2 separate regions of the Homo sapiens genome follow, and region 1 is linked to region 2. Evidence: promoter capture Hi-C in human tissues and cell types (Jung and others, 2019). All regions are on one chromosome and are shown on one strand. The core of a region is centred on a gene start or on the middle of the fragment in contact, and the rest is flanking DNA. Distances in the headings are between cores, read along the strand shown.

Region 1 (7,170 bases), core at 588-3,087, 47 kb after region 2:
AAGTTTCTTCTATTTTGGCAAATAAAATTACAATGACTATAAATATACATAAAACCACAACATATTTGGCAGTGTCAAAGGTTCGCTAGTAAGGCATGACACTTAAAAGGAAGACTTAAAATGATTAAACTGTGAAATATAAAGGTAATATATTTGACACTTCTACATTTAGTTAGAAAAATATGATCTTGCAAGATTTTAGTGAGGGTATAATGTACTCAGCATGAGACAGATAGATGATAGAGAGATAGAAACATAGAGTATTTGTCTATGTATATAAATTCATATCTCTATTCTTGTCTGTAGTGCTAAAATAGAGGAGTGGGAAGACAGATGAGGGACTCAATTACCTAACCCAGAGGTCAGATATGGCTTCACTAAGGAGGTGACGTGTTTTAGAAATTTAGCAAATATACCTGTAATGACTCTCTTCAGGGAGTTAGCACTACATAGTGTACTCCTTCATAGAACTATCTCTAGATTTGACCTGAATATTTTTTTTAAAAGCTCTGGTTAAATACCTCTAGTGCGACTTCATGTTATTTTGAGGCTCTCTGTTGGTTAGGAATTTAATATTCTGTTACATTCTTAATAATTCTTCTGACATGTTATACATTTTTATTTATGTAGTGTTATGCTTTATTTCTCTGAAAATTAATTGATGTATTTATGAAACATGAGGTATATTGTGAAAGCCTTTATTCCTTTATGTACTAGTATATGTCAAATGAGCTTTGAAGTGATTTTTTTTTTACCTTTTGTAAAACATGTAACAATATACTAATCCATTAGTAAATGGCACACTTATGTTAAGCTTGTGATTATTCGAAAGAGAATACACCAGAAAAAAAAAAGAAGAGTGACAAATAGAGCATAAACCTTTGTCATTCTACAGAAATAGCTTTGGAGATATTGGTGAATCATGAGAGCTAAAAATACTACTAATCTTGATACCATCATCTAAGCTCTCTAATTAAACTGTCTCACATAATACTGTGTGATAATCCTATATGGTAAACAACTGGCAAAACCATGAAATATCAGATTCCAGAGAATCATGAGTAGAAGTCAATGGCAAGAGTGAGAACCTATTCCATACAATTTTCACAAATGATATTGAATATAAGAAATGCAGTGTAAAAGTACTAAATTACACGCAAGTTTCCCTGACCTGCCTTATGGAATTCACCATTTCTAATAAGTCAGGGCTTCTGTTCTTGACTCAAGTCTTTTTTTCACATGACCAAGTTATTGAACAATTACTTTACACAGAACATTTAGATTTTAAGAAAAGGTCAAGAATTATTGCTCTTGGAGATGTCTGTTAACTTTGTAATTTTTCCCTTTTGATATTGAAGCAATAAAGTAGAATTTGTGATTATTTTAATAAAATTAAATATAATATAAAGAGAACTAGTGGTTTCTAGCTGTTAATTCCAAAGATATATTACTATAATTATTGACTATATGTCAAAATACAAATATATCTTCTGTTATATAATCATGTATCACAATTAAATATTTGAACAGAAAATGTATGTATTTTAATCCAGACAACTATTTTGACAATTGTTGAAGACATATGCACTCTAAATTGTAAGAGTATATACCATAATTCAGAAGGAAGTACTACATTTTCAGAATTCTCCATCTCCTTTTAGTATAATTTTGTTTAAAAAGGTAGTGGAAGAAGTAATTTACTAAAAAATTAATGAAATCATGATATAGATATTAAGGCAAAGCCAATGTATAAACTTAACTATTATATTTTTCATGTGAAAAGTGGAATGTTTAACCATATTGAATAGCACTTAGGCTGTTATAGCTGCAAGCACAATGCTTTTGAGTTAGTCACTCAACACATTTCATCAACAAACAGAAAACTATTTAAAAGTTTGGACAACCTATGCCATTTGAGGCCATAACTTAGAAGGAAAATTTATAAAGCAAAGATGTAATGGAAATAACAATCAAAAAGCAATGCATCTTATCTTGCTAAAAATTGTTTTCTCTAAATTCTAACTTTGTGAAATATTTTATAGCATTCAACACTAATATATGATAAGAGTAGGATTTCAGTCTGGGAAAATCAAAAACCTTAAAACCTTATTGATTCTATGTCTAGACATTATCTTTTAACATCTGTAGCATGAGAAGATTCACTTTCTAGCCTCTTATTTAAACAGCTGCTAACTTAAACTGCAAAATAATCATGTTGAAAAATGGCAAAAGGAATAGTCATACTCTTATAAGGTTGTAACTCCCCTTTCTGTAATTGCTGATATTTGGCAAGTATTACCCTTTGTTTTGCTGTGCCATAGGTAGTATGCTCATTATGGTGAAATGAAATGAAAGCATAAAGGAAATGTTCAAGCATCAGATACCTCCTTTATCATTGGTGTTCATCCACTCACAAATGTTTATTTAATAAGTTCTTATACAATGCTTGATTATTCCTAAGTAATATAAAGATAAATCATTCACCCCTTAGCTTTTAGATATTCTGTTTATTTAGATGCATGTAAAACTAGTTTTCTTATCAGTCTTTTGAACATTTACCCAAAAGGGTAATTTAACTTAAATGTTGAAAAAAAATTGATTCTAAAAATATTGTCTGATCCATTCCACCTGGTATCCATCTGTGACAGTATGTCTTCACAATCTGTCATCTGCTTTTATCCTGTATGTTCTTAACCACTTCATTTGGGTGCAATCTTTGAACTGATTTTTTCCCTTCCTTATTTCTGGTGTTCTGGTTAGTATAAATTGACATTTTCAAATCTTTAGTCAGGTTTTGGGATGATGTATACTAATTAATTAGGAAGATGTAATGTACCATCAGCTCTCTATACATATTCGTTTATAGCACCATTAATATAGAGGTAGAATCAATCATTATATTCTAGTTTTTCATTTCCTTTGTAAGAACTTTCAATGCATTTTTATTTGGAAATGTATACATTTACTTTATCATCATTTCCTATGAGAAAACAGTACTTCACTTCTAAATTTCTAAATTCTTTCAGATTGAAATATATGCACACATAGGTGTTGAGTCTAATACTTTGTAGCGCTTGTCATTACAGTTGCCTCTCAGTATCAAGGGGGGTGAGTTACAGGATCCCCTTGGATACCAGCATCCACAGATGCTTAAGTCCCTTATATAAAATGGCATATATAGTATTTGCATATAAACTATACACATCCTTTTCTATACTTTAAATAATCTCTAGATTACTTACAATATCTAATACAGTGTAAATTCTAGGCATGTAGTTGTTATATTGTGTTGTTTTTAAAATTTGTATTTTTGTATTGTTGCATTATTTTTTGTTATTTTTTTCCCCAAATATTTATTATCCATGGTTGGGTTAATCCATGGATGCAGAACCAGTGGATACAGAGAGCTGACTGTGCTTTTTCTTTTTTTTTTTCTTTTTGAGACAGAGTCTCACTCTGTCGCCCAGGCTGGAGTGCAGTGGCGCGATCTGGGCTCACTGCAAGCTCCGCCTCCTGGGTTCACAGCATTCTCCTGCCTCAGCCTCCTGAGTAGCTGGGACTACAGGCTCCCGCCGCCACGGCTGGCTAAGTTTTTTTTTCTTTTTTTTTTTTTTGTATTTTTCGTAGAGACAGGGTTTCACCATGTTAGCCAGGATGGTCTCGATCTCCTGACCTCGTGATCCACCTGCCTCGGCTTCCCAAAGTGCTGGGATTACAGGCGTGAGCCACCGCGCCTTGCCGACTGTGCTTTTTCTGAGTTCACTCTGAATATTAAGGTACTTTACAGTTTTGCCTAGTTTATAACTTGAAAAATGTAAAGTAGTATATGTACATATAAATAAGTTTTCACCTTTAGTTTTGTCGTGCCCCTCCATAGGTCATAAATCAAATGAATTAGTATGTCTTAGAGACATATGAAATGTAATAGGAAACCAAATGTACAGAAGGGTGTGTGAATATATATGTGTATTTATGCTCATAATAAAAGAAAACAAAAGATGTAATATCCCATTGTTTTTAAATCAGTGTTTTTGCTTACTCTACAATTGTTTAAATATTTAAAAGAGAGCCAGTAAGAAATAAATTGAAATTATTTTTCATAAGAATCAGTGATATTTCTGTTTTCCAATAGAAATGTTAATTATTAGAATTTATTTTAATAGTGGCCTGTCTAGTTCCAAATTACCAACAGAAATGAAAGTATTGTGTACTTACTGTATGGCAATTCTCAGTAATCTAAAACTAGAATATTACTTTTTTGGGTTTGGGTAGGTCATGTATTTAAAGAGAGATAGTTTCTTAAATAATCCAGAGCAGGAAAAAACTATTATTCTTTAAATTTTTGCCTTGGAAACAACCCTGAAATGATAGTTTTGTTATAACTTATAATTCTCAGCTTAGTTGTTTTCCTTCTCTTGGACCTTTTCTCCCCTGTGTTCAGAGAAGGTATTCAATTATATGCTCCTAAAATGCTTTTAATTTCATTCGTATACTTTTTGTTGTTACTGTATTAAGGATGCTTACAGAATCATGTTAAAATCATCTAAAGTATTAGTCTAAACATGGCTGTGCAGTTGTCTCCCTGTGCAGCATAACAGGGAGACTTAAAGACTGAAAGCCAGTGAAGTGTCTCTCCTTACTTCTGTAGCCAAGGCTGCACTCCCCTCTACTAAGAATGTGCCACATCAGTCCTATTGCTCTGATGACTATGAAAAATTTACTAAGTGGTGTCAGTGAATTAACCTTTGGTAAGTGGGATGGTGTCACCAGATGCATAATGCTGGAGGATGGATAAGATTCCTTCATTCGTCCATTCAATAAACATAGATTAACCTCCTGCTATGTGCTGGACATTGTGCTAGGCTTTGGGAATCCATGGATACATATATTATAATCCCTGAACTTGAGGGTTTCACGGTGAGTTAGAGGACACATGCATAAAGAAATAATTATGGCAGTGTGAATGACATAGTGGTGGTATGTTGTATTGAGTGAAACTGTTCTCCTAAGTAGCCTTAAGAGCTCAGAAAAGATGGAGGAGGCAAAGCGTTTAACTGATTCATGAAGAATGGATGTTGCTCTTTTAAAAAGAATGAAACTATATAGGGTTATTCTTTACATATGTAGCTACTTTTTCTGCAGAGTTTGTTTTAACAGACAATTAAATGATATTCTGCTACTGGCTACGTTGTCTTTTTGCAAAATTCTATGGATGCAAAGTTAGTAGGATAATGGATACAAAGAGATGTGGCAAATTATTTATTTGGGTGTGGAGGTAAAAATCAGCAATTAATTAACTGGTTTTCTCTTATGAAGGAGTAGAAAGTATGAAAATACAGTCAGAATTCTTACTAGTTTATTTCTAAAAATTCTATGTATCTTGCAAGTGTGTGTGTGTGTGTGTGTGTGTGTGTGTGTGTGTGGCCTTTATTTTTCTTTTCTTTTCTTTCTTTTTCTTTGCCAGCTCTTTTTTTTAAAAAAGAAAGGATTGAGCTCAACAACATTTTTCTAAGCATTTATTCTGCTTGTTATTTTCTTTTATTTCTAAGAATTAAGGATTGAGTGAATACACTCATTGTCCTGACGCATCCATTTAATATGTCATGCTTCAGGGTAAACTGATTTCTTTATGATCTCCAGAAAATTTTCCACTGACATAACAGAAATGATTATTTACCTCCCCACATGTTCAAACTGCCTTAACCTGCTTTAGGGTTATTTGCTTCACAAGACTTAGTATTGATCCACATTTTATAACTGACTAAATAAGGAAACAGAGTCTTCACCAAACAGCTAGAACGATTGCTTTAACTGACAATTTTGCTTTAATCATTTTTAAAATTATCGCAGAAAACTGATAGTGAAAAGCCCATGTCTTGGACTGCTTTGCATAGAAGTATAGCTCTTTATTTTAGGAAATTAAGATGAAATTAATTATCTTCTTTTTAGCTGTGGATTTTTCAAGGCTTGCACCACAAATATATAGATTTAAATATATTATGGGAGAAAAATTAATTATTGACAAGCCACTCACAAGATAGTCCAATTTTAATCCTTCGAATTGGACTAAAGTTGCAATTTTTATTAACTTGAAGTAACCTGACCTTATAGAATATTCTTATATTGCCAGATCCTTCATTAGCCTCATTGAAAATCAAGCCAATAACTGCCACAGATAGCTCTCCAGTTTATATATAAAATTGGTCAATAATGTGTCCCTGCACACTTCCTGCATGTCTACCTGTGCTGAGTAGTTTTCTCATTTCACATTGATGAAATGCTACAGCTTTGGCAGGAAAGGTGACTTCAGAATTTATAGTCACCTCTGAAATAGGAGATAATTGGGCATGCTGTAAAAGATACAAGTTAAGGTACAATGTTTATAATTTATATAAGTAATTTACTATTAAATATCAGAAATTTAATTAGCTTAAGCTCATAATCAACTGATTATCCATACCATTTGAAGCCAGTGGTCAAAAGGATAATGTAGTGTTTAGAGATCCTCATTATTTGTCTTTTTAGCTGATATACCTTTTTGGTACATTGCCTGCCTGACACAGTAATAGATACACAGTATGCAAATAATAATAATTTGGTCGAGGAATGAATACTGGGCTATATTTGGTTAATAACTAATTTGTATTTCTTATTTGCTTACACATTTGGGAATAGGGAAAGTGGTTCAGAGGTTGTCTGGGGTAGAAACTACAGTGGGATCAAAACTTTGCTTGGAAATTGACATTGTAAAATAGTCACAGTACTTAACTAATTATTGAGTGCTTAGTCTATGCCAGGCAGCATACTAAGTTCTTCACGTGAACTATGCACTGTAATTCATAACAATCTTATAAGATAGTCTTATTATTATTTTCTCTATTTTATATATGGGAAAACTGGACTCAGAACTTGAGCAAATTTGTAAAGACCACACAGTGAATACGTACTAGGAGAGCAGCCAGTCTTATAATTTGTGTGTGTGTGTGTTCTAACAGTCTTATAATTGATATAAAGAACAAGCCATCCTACCTCTTTAGGATCATTGAAGTGAGACCTTATATAGTGAGACTGACAATGTCTATCATTCAAAATATGAATTTTATCTTTTGAAAAATGTGTTAAAATTATGTAACAGCAAATGTAATGTTACTTAAAAAGGGGAATTATCAC
Region 2 (6,906 bases), core at 1,937-4,436:
GTCCCTTTGCCCTCGAATGGCCTGAATACTAGACACACACAGTATAACCTTTTCTTTCATTTGAAAATTCATAGAACTTATTCCCTGAAGTCATTATAATTTACTCCTATTTCTCTCTTAAAATCAGAGAATATTTCCCAGAGTTAAACAGTGAGGTAAATATTAGTATTGTAACAAGTTAAAACAAAATAGCAGGTGTACCCTCATTTAGAATGTGTCTTGAATTTGGACATTTCCCTACATGTACAGTCATGTGATTATTGGTAATTATACAAATAAATAATACAAAATGCATTAAAATTGGGTATATCTCCTTAGTATCTGAAGAGAGGCGTTTTTCATCTTTCCACTATACATTTATTATAGATGTTGCAACAGAGGGGATATAAAATTGAAATATTAAGGTCTTAGTCTCTGTTTCCATTTACTTAAAATTCACTAAATATATGTGGACGACGCTATCAACTTAGTTGTACAATGAATGCATAAAAATGTAAAACTAGTTTTCAGAATTATTGCTTTGGCGCACAGGTGTTGGTCTCATACACTATTTGGTATTGCTCAGGAAGACAAGTTCCTTTTGAATTCACTTTATATACAAACACATCGCATTATTAAAAATAATTGATTAGAAATAATATGCTTAAATCATAAAATGAAGCTAAAATAAATTGTAATGGTGTGAGGAAGTTCACCATTATGTTATTTTAAAATGAGAAAGTTTTGTATACTGATAATTTTTATGTCAGTGGCTTCATGTACAAATAGGTCTATATGCTTTATCATTAGTCAAATACAGTCGAGTGTAAATTTATATATTAATCATATACTGTATGCTGAACACTGTCTTCTTGACTGTCATTTATTTTTATTTAAATGCTCCGAATTCTTTGTCAATATATCTAGATACTACAAAAGAAAGAAGAGAAGTTTGAAAAACCTAAAAATCAGTATCACTGTGCAGCTATGCAGGGAGAACTGTCAGCAGCCTGGCACATGTGCATTTAATGTGAAGCTTCTTGTCTCTAAAAATAAGAGTAAAGTTACACATGCCCCTGTGTCTGACAGAGAGAAGGGACACAAAAAGAGGACTCACTATACCACCTACACTCATCAGAGGAGTGAAGGATGTTACTTCTTTGGTTTCCTGGTTTTAATGGAAAAGTATTTGTATTCACATCATTGAGTATTAGTCATTCAATAGATGAAAGGAATATTTTAAACTTTAAAGGCCACCTTGGTGTCATTTTAAGAAGTGGGGATGAGACCCTGGGGAAAGTGTTGAAATCCTGGAGAATTCGTTTTAACTATTAGAAGTGGTTTAATATTTGTAAGTTTGTAGTTCTGTGAGTTCTAAAGACTAAGTGCAGGGATTTATGTTTTTAACTCTTATGTTTTAGTTTACAAGTTTCATCCTTAAATCATCTATTTGTGTAAATAAAGCTTCATCTCCTCTATAACAAGTGTGTTCTCCCCATATTTTTTTTTGTCTCTTTCTAAGGTTAATCTATTACGCATTTACATTTTCTATGCATCCTTTAAGGGACACTGAAGATGCTTTTTGATACACTTTCTAAAATATTAAATAGGCATAATGGCTAGGAATATGTAACATTGAAGAAATGTTTCAGAAACTACAGAATCAAAGAGGTTTAAAGAATAAATTTCATATCTCTCTTCCATGTTATTTTATTAGGCAAATAAAAACTACAGGAGACAATTTAACATAAAATACAAATAAATATCTGGGGGTTGTCATCTTAGAGAACTCCCTACTATAAAAAGCAGAAACAACTCAATTTACTTTATATTTCCAGATAGAAAGGTTGGAAAAAGTTTGGAGCCTTATGTGAGATCAAACTTTGGATCTATCGGAAATAAAAGGAAATCATAAATGACTGAGAAATATTTTTAAAGGAAGAAATTATAGGACAAAAAAAGAAATTCATCTTAAACATGTGATCAAGTTACTCTGTGTGACCTTTGAAATTGAAGATTTGGCAATTAAAATTTTAAAGTTCTTCCTCTTATTACCTACCTCTTGAATACAAAGTGTCCGAAACTGCCTAATGGAAAACAGATTTCTCTACGCAGCCTTCCTTGCCGTTCGGGTTGAATGAATTCAACTGGAGATATTGGTTATGACTTTTTTTATTCTTAGTTTCTCTTTGAAAGATAAGCATTGAATAATTCCTGAAAATGGTAAATACTTGCGAAGAGAAAGGTCTTGCTTTATGAATTTAATACGTAGTGGCATTCTTTAAAATTCAGTGTAATTTATGCAGCGAAATGGAAAACTATCAAAGTGGAGGCAATCCAAGGAAAACCTTAGAAAATGATAAACGCGTAAAAAAACGATACGCAACCATCAGAAGGTTCTCTCCTAATGTCTCACTTCGCTCAACAAACTATGGTGAAAAGACAGGGCGGAGGAGAAGGGGCGCTTAAAACAAAAGACTTCCTTTCCCACTCCCTTTTCCTCTGTTTCTTTTGCCAGAGCTTGTTGCAAACTCTTGGAAACATTGTTTAAACATAATACACTTGGTTACTTTATTCTTTCAGGGATTGTGGTGGGTGGTACCTAAAACTGACGGCTCTTGGAGTAACAGAAAAAGAGAAGTAGAAACTTTTCAAAAAGGCAAAAAACAAAGTTACCCAGCCCGCGGAGGTTCTAACAACAAAAAAGTAAAACACACTTTACTTAAAGGCACAGCTCATTTCACTGTCCGGGCTCCGTGCTTGGTAGCTGAGAGAAGGCTTGCTTCGCCTCTGGTTTCTAAAAGATCGCGCGGAGTACAGCTATAGAAAAGAGTGTAAGTTGGGAGCGTTATTCTCGGATTTATTCTGCTACGCGAAAGCTGCGGTTGCTAAAAGCAGAGCGTCCAAAGCAGCACACACCTCGGCTACCATCCTCGTTCTCCTCTGAACATCCAGCGCGAGCTCAGAACCTGGAGGGAATCCTGGACCAGCAACCTGACTCCGCTCGGCACCGATTGGCTCCTGCCTCGGACCCCGCCCCCGTGGCCGGGGCGGCCATTTCGCCGGGACCCGCCCCTTGGCCCTGGGAATCGCCTCCTGGCAGGCCGGCTGTGCCTGCCACTCAGCCCGAGTGGCGGAGGCTCTCAGCTCGGAGCCCCGCCCCCTCCCCCCCTAATTGATATTATTGGAGTGTGGAGCAAGCGGCCGGTCTGCAGTCGGAGACTTGCAGGCAGCAAACACGGTGCGAGCGAACAGGAGTGGGGGGGAAATTAAAAAAAGCTAAACGTGGAGCAGCCGATCGGGGACCGAGAAGGGGAATCGATGCAAGGAGCACAATAAAACAAAAGCTACTTCGGAACAAACAGCATTTAAAAATCCACGACTCAAGATAACTGAAACCTAAAATAAAACCTGCTCATGCACCATGGTTTTTCAAACTCGGTACCCTTCATGGATTATTTTATGCTACATCTGGCTGCTCCGCTTTGCACACACAGGGGAGGCGCAGGCTGCGAAGGAAGGTAAGGTGATGGGAAAGCAAAGTTTGTTCTGACTTATTTATTTAGATGTCTACCTGCACAAGCCAGCTCGTCCGCGGCGCTGCCGGCCGCGCCTCCGGCGCCGGGCGACCCTCCCCCGCCGGCTCCCCGCCCCCTCACCGCTGAGGCCGCTCCTGGCGGACCAGCGAGCGCGAACCAGGGCTGTTCCGAGCCGCCTACAGCCCTGTGCCCGGAGCCGTCCATCCGACGGGTGCGGGATTTCTGGCGCGGGCAGTCTGGAGGGCGTGAGCAGCAACGGGGGTGGGGTGGGGTTGGAGGAACTGCCGGCGAGCTTATTTCTTAGTACCTCAGGCGGGTCACATCTCTCTCTAGCTCGGTCTTCCTTGTCTCCTTATTCGCCTTCTGTGGGAGCTGCGGCCAGAGTTGGGTTGGAGACTGGGAAATGCAGCCCCTACCGTCTCCGCCAGCCCGCCGGCGAGTGGCGGGAGCCCGGAGCCTTCCCAGAGGGACCGAGACTTCGATGAGCTCGGAAAGCTCGGGTTACTAATGAAGTGCTCACTGCGTCGGAGGCGGCGGCGCGGTCCTGCGGTTGGCGCTCGGCCGCCAGCACGGAACAATAACGCCGCGGAGGTGAAGCGCGGCGTGCGGCGCGCGACCCGAGGGCCGGGGATGTCTCCATTCAGCGCGCGCTGCGCGTCGGGCCCAGCGGTCATGGGGGCAGCGGCAGCCCAGCGGGCTTGGTCGGGCCGTGGAGGCAGGGGGCGGGCTGGAGCTGTGCAATTTGTAAGGATGCCGCCTGGGCGACTCAAAGTCCCCAATTATTTGCCCCATAGTGCAGCAATTGAGGAATCCGAGTGCCCAATCCTTGCCAAAGACCTGAACCCTGAGGGTTGGTTCTGGTAGGAGAAGGCAGGTTTTATTTGGCAAGCTGTTACAGATACGCCTGTATATGGTTATGTTTTCCTTCTTTGAACCTTTGACAGAAGGTAAAATACCTTTCGGTGCCTGTAGTTGGAGCTGGGGAAAAATAAACCCTGTCAATGGAAGTCTCTTGCTTTTGAGCAGTGTCACAATCCCATCCCCAACCCCCCTCATCCCGTCGCCCCCCTGGTCTTTCAGGCTGTGTATCTAAGTTTCATTTTTCGATCTGTTAAAAGCAGAAGAGAAATAATTACTTATTCCTGATGTGTAGAGGGAGAGGAATCTGTTATGAAATTTAGGTCATGGTGGTTATCGGGCGGGGTGTTGAGGGGACTTACATATAGGTCCTTGATTCATCTATTTCTGAAAACTTAGTGCACCTTTTCTTTATTCTCATCGTGCACTCCTCTTAGTTCGCTCAAGCCCCCCTCAAACCCGGCGCCAAATTCTAGTCCTTCTTTCAGCCTGACCTTCTGACCCCACTTTCCACATCTGCAACCTGTATAGATGCTGAACCCATTCAGAGAACCCCGTGCCTCCAAGCTGGCGGTTACGCGTTTGCAGAAGGACGGACATCTGCTAGAAACGCACGCTCATCCCCTCCAAAACCACATTTCTACTCCCCTGACGTTAGCGATCAGAAACCTTCAGCCCTGGCATACTGTGATTCCTCTGGAATAGCGGACCAGAGGAAAAGTTTGCACCGCCGCGGCGAAACCCCGCGCGCGAACACACGCAGACTCGGGCTGGAGTTTGGGCTATAAATAACTGCATCACTAGGGGGAGAGGTTCCTGCAGCCAGAATGTCTAGTTCTCTTTGCTCTTCTGGGTGCAAGCTACGTGAAGAGGATTCTGATTCTAAGAGCCTGAATTCTTTAGATGCAGAAGTGTGATGTATAAAAGGCGCGGGGGTGATGGGAGGGAGGGTGGTGATCTGTGGCTGGCGGGCGGCGAGTGCGCCCGGCTTCTAGGCGGCGACGCCTCTAGGGCGCAGCGGCGACCAAGAGCTGGCGTTCTAGGAGTTCACAAGCCCCGAGGCGGCCCGCAGTACCCAAGGGCTAGCGCTGGGAACCGCTTGAAGCAGGTGCCGGGCCTCCTGGGGCATTTGGGGGTGGCTAGAGGAAGATAAGAAACCCCCTTCCCTCACTTTCCTTGTGCACGTTCTCTCGGGTTGGTCAGTTATCATCGCTACAGGGAGCGCGTGTCAGAGTCTGACGCTTGAAGGCAAAGTGCAGCTGCTTACTTTTTCTCTCCGTAAATGCCGCCGCCGCCGCCGCCTCTTCCTCAGAGGAGATGCTTCCCGAAAGCCACTCTCCTCTTCCCGAAAGCCACTCTCCTCTTCCCGACTCCTTCTCGAGCGAGGGCGCCACCGGCTCCCTGGAGTGCCCAGGTCTGGCAGAGGCGTAATGGATGCTTGGCGCGGCTGGCGCGCCCGTCTGGCAGCCCCCGCCCCGCCCCTCCGACGGCCCCGCCCCAGCCCCGGGACGCCAGCCTTTGCCCGCGCGGTCGTTGCCTGGGTCTGTCAGGGCGCGCCCCCAGTCTAGCCCCTCTCCCATCACCTGTTGGCCCACAGGACTCCGGGGCGCGGAGCCCTGGAGTCCTAGGCCTGGCCCCCAGCGTCCGGGTGAGCCGAGGGACTGCGCCTCCGCGGGCGCAAAGGGAGGTCGGCACTCTGCTCCGAGCGGGAAGGGATACGCGCTCTTTTGAGGGTTTAACCAGAGAGCGGACCGAGCAGAAGAGAGACGCACGGATCACTTGAGAGCGGCTTCCGATTAAACGTTCTCGGGCCGGGTTCTGTTTTGTTTTAATTTGTTAGTTTGTTTCTCTCTTAACTTGGCCATCACTGCTGTCTGCTTAGGTCCCTTGCTTCCACCCCCAGGCTGAGCTGAGGGGTAGCAGAATGGCAATAAACAGTAATCTCGCAATGTTTATTTCACTCTCAGAAATGACCCAAGAAGGTCACCTGCATTTAAAATCCTGTTGTCTATATTCAGCACACAAGAAAAATAAAATAAAAATTAAGAAAGCATCTCAAAAAGAGTAGAGTACCTGACCACCCACCTTGTTTCCCTGTGCTTCATGTCTGTTGTTGAGGATAAAAATAAACTTTAAAAATTACTTTTTATATAAATTCGCTAGTCCAACGATTTATCGATGTTACAAGTTGAAATTCAAATTGGCATTTTGAAAGTGTTGTGGGTGTGTTTCTCATTTGAAAGGGAGTCAAATGTTTCTGATCAAGTTTTTTTTTTTCCTGTCAGTCTCCCTGAGAGTCTTAAGTGTAAAACACTAAACAAAGAAACAACAACAACAACAAAACAAAAATCCTGGGTCTCTATATCTATTTTCATTTACAGTGAGTAACTTTGACTAGTGTGAAGGAATTAAACACATAATCAACTGTTCCTTTAAACAGATAATCAGTTGTTCCTTTGTTTTCTTATCATAACACATTTTTGTCTTTCAAATACATATTTTATCCCTAGTGATTGAGTTGTATAATTAT

What was found. Contacts are between HindIII fragments. The study calls those that stand out against the background at their distance.
Region 1: a contact is called between a fragment that was not itself captured here and the fragment with the promoter of EPHA7 in region 2, in 1 of the 25 tissues and cell types used here (mesendoderm cells).

What each region holds. Positions count from the first base shown.
Region 1 is chr6:93,367,434-93,374,603 of GRCh38, reverse strand. The region is part of intron 3 of EPHA7 (EPH receptor A7); the gene reads left to right. Among named protein-coding and RNA genes, the nearest start is that of EPHA7, 49 kb to the left of the region's middle. The HindIII fragment of the contact is 5,793 bases long and covers 1-4,733 here.
Region 2 is chr6:93,415,839-93,422,744 of GRCh38, reverse strand. It overlaps EPHA7 (EPH receptor A7), which reads left to right and starts at 3,186. Exons shown (of 17, transcript NM_004440.4): 1 at 3,186-3,500. The coding sequence starts at 3,404. RefSeq lists a silencer at 2,939-3,138. The HindIII fragment of the contact is 11,378 bases long and covers 1,230-6,906 here.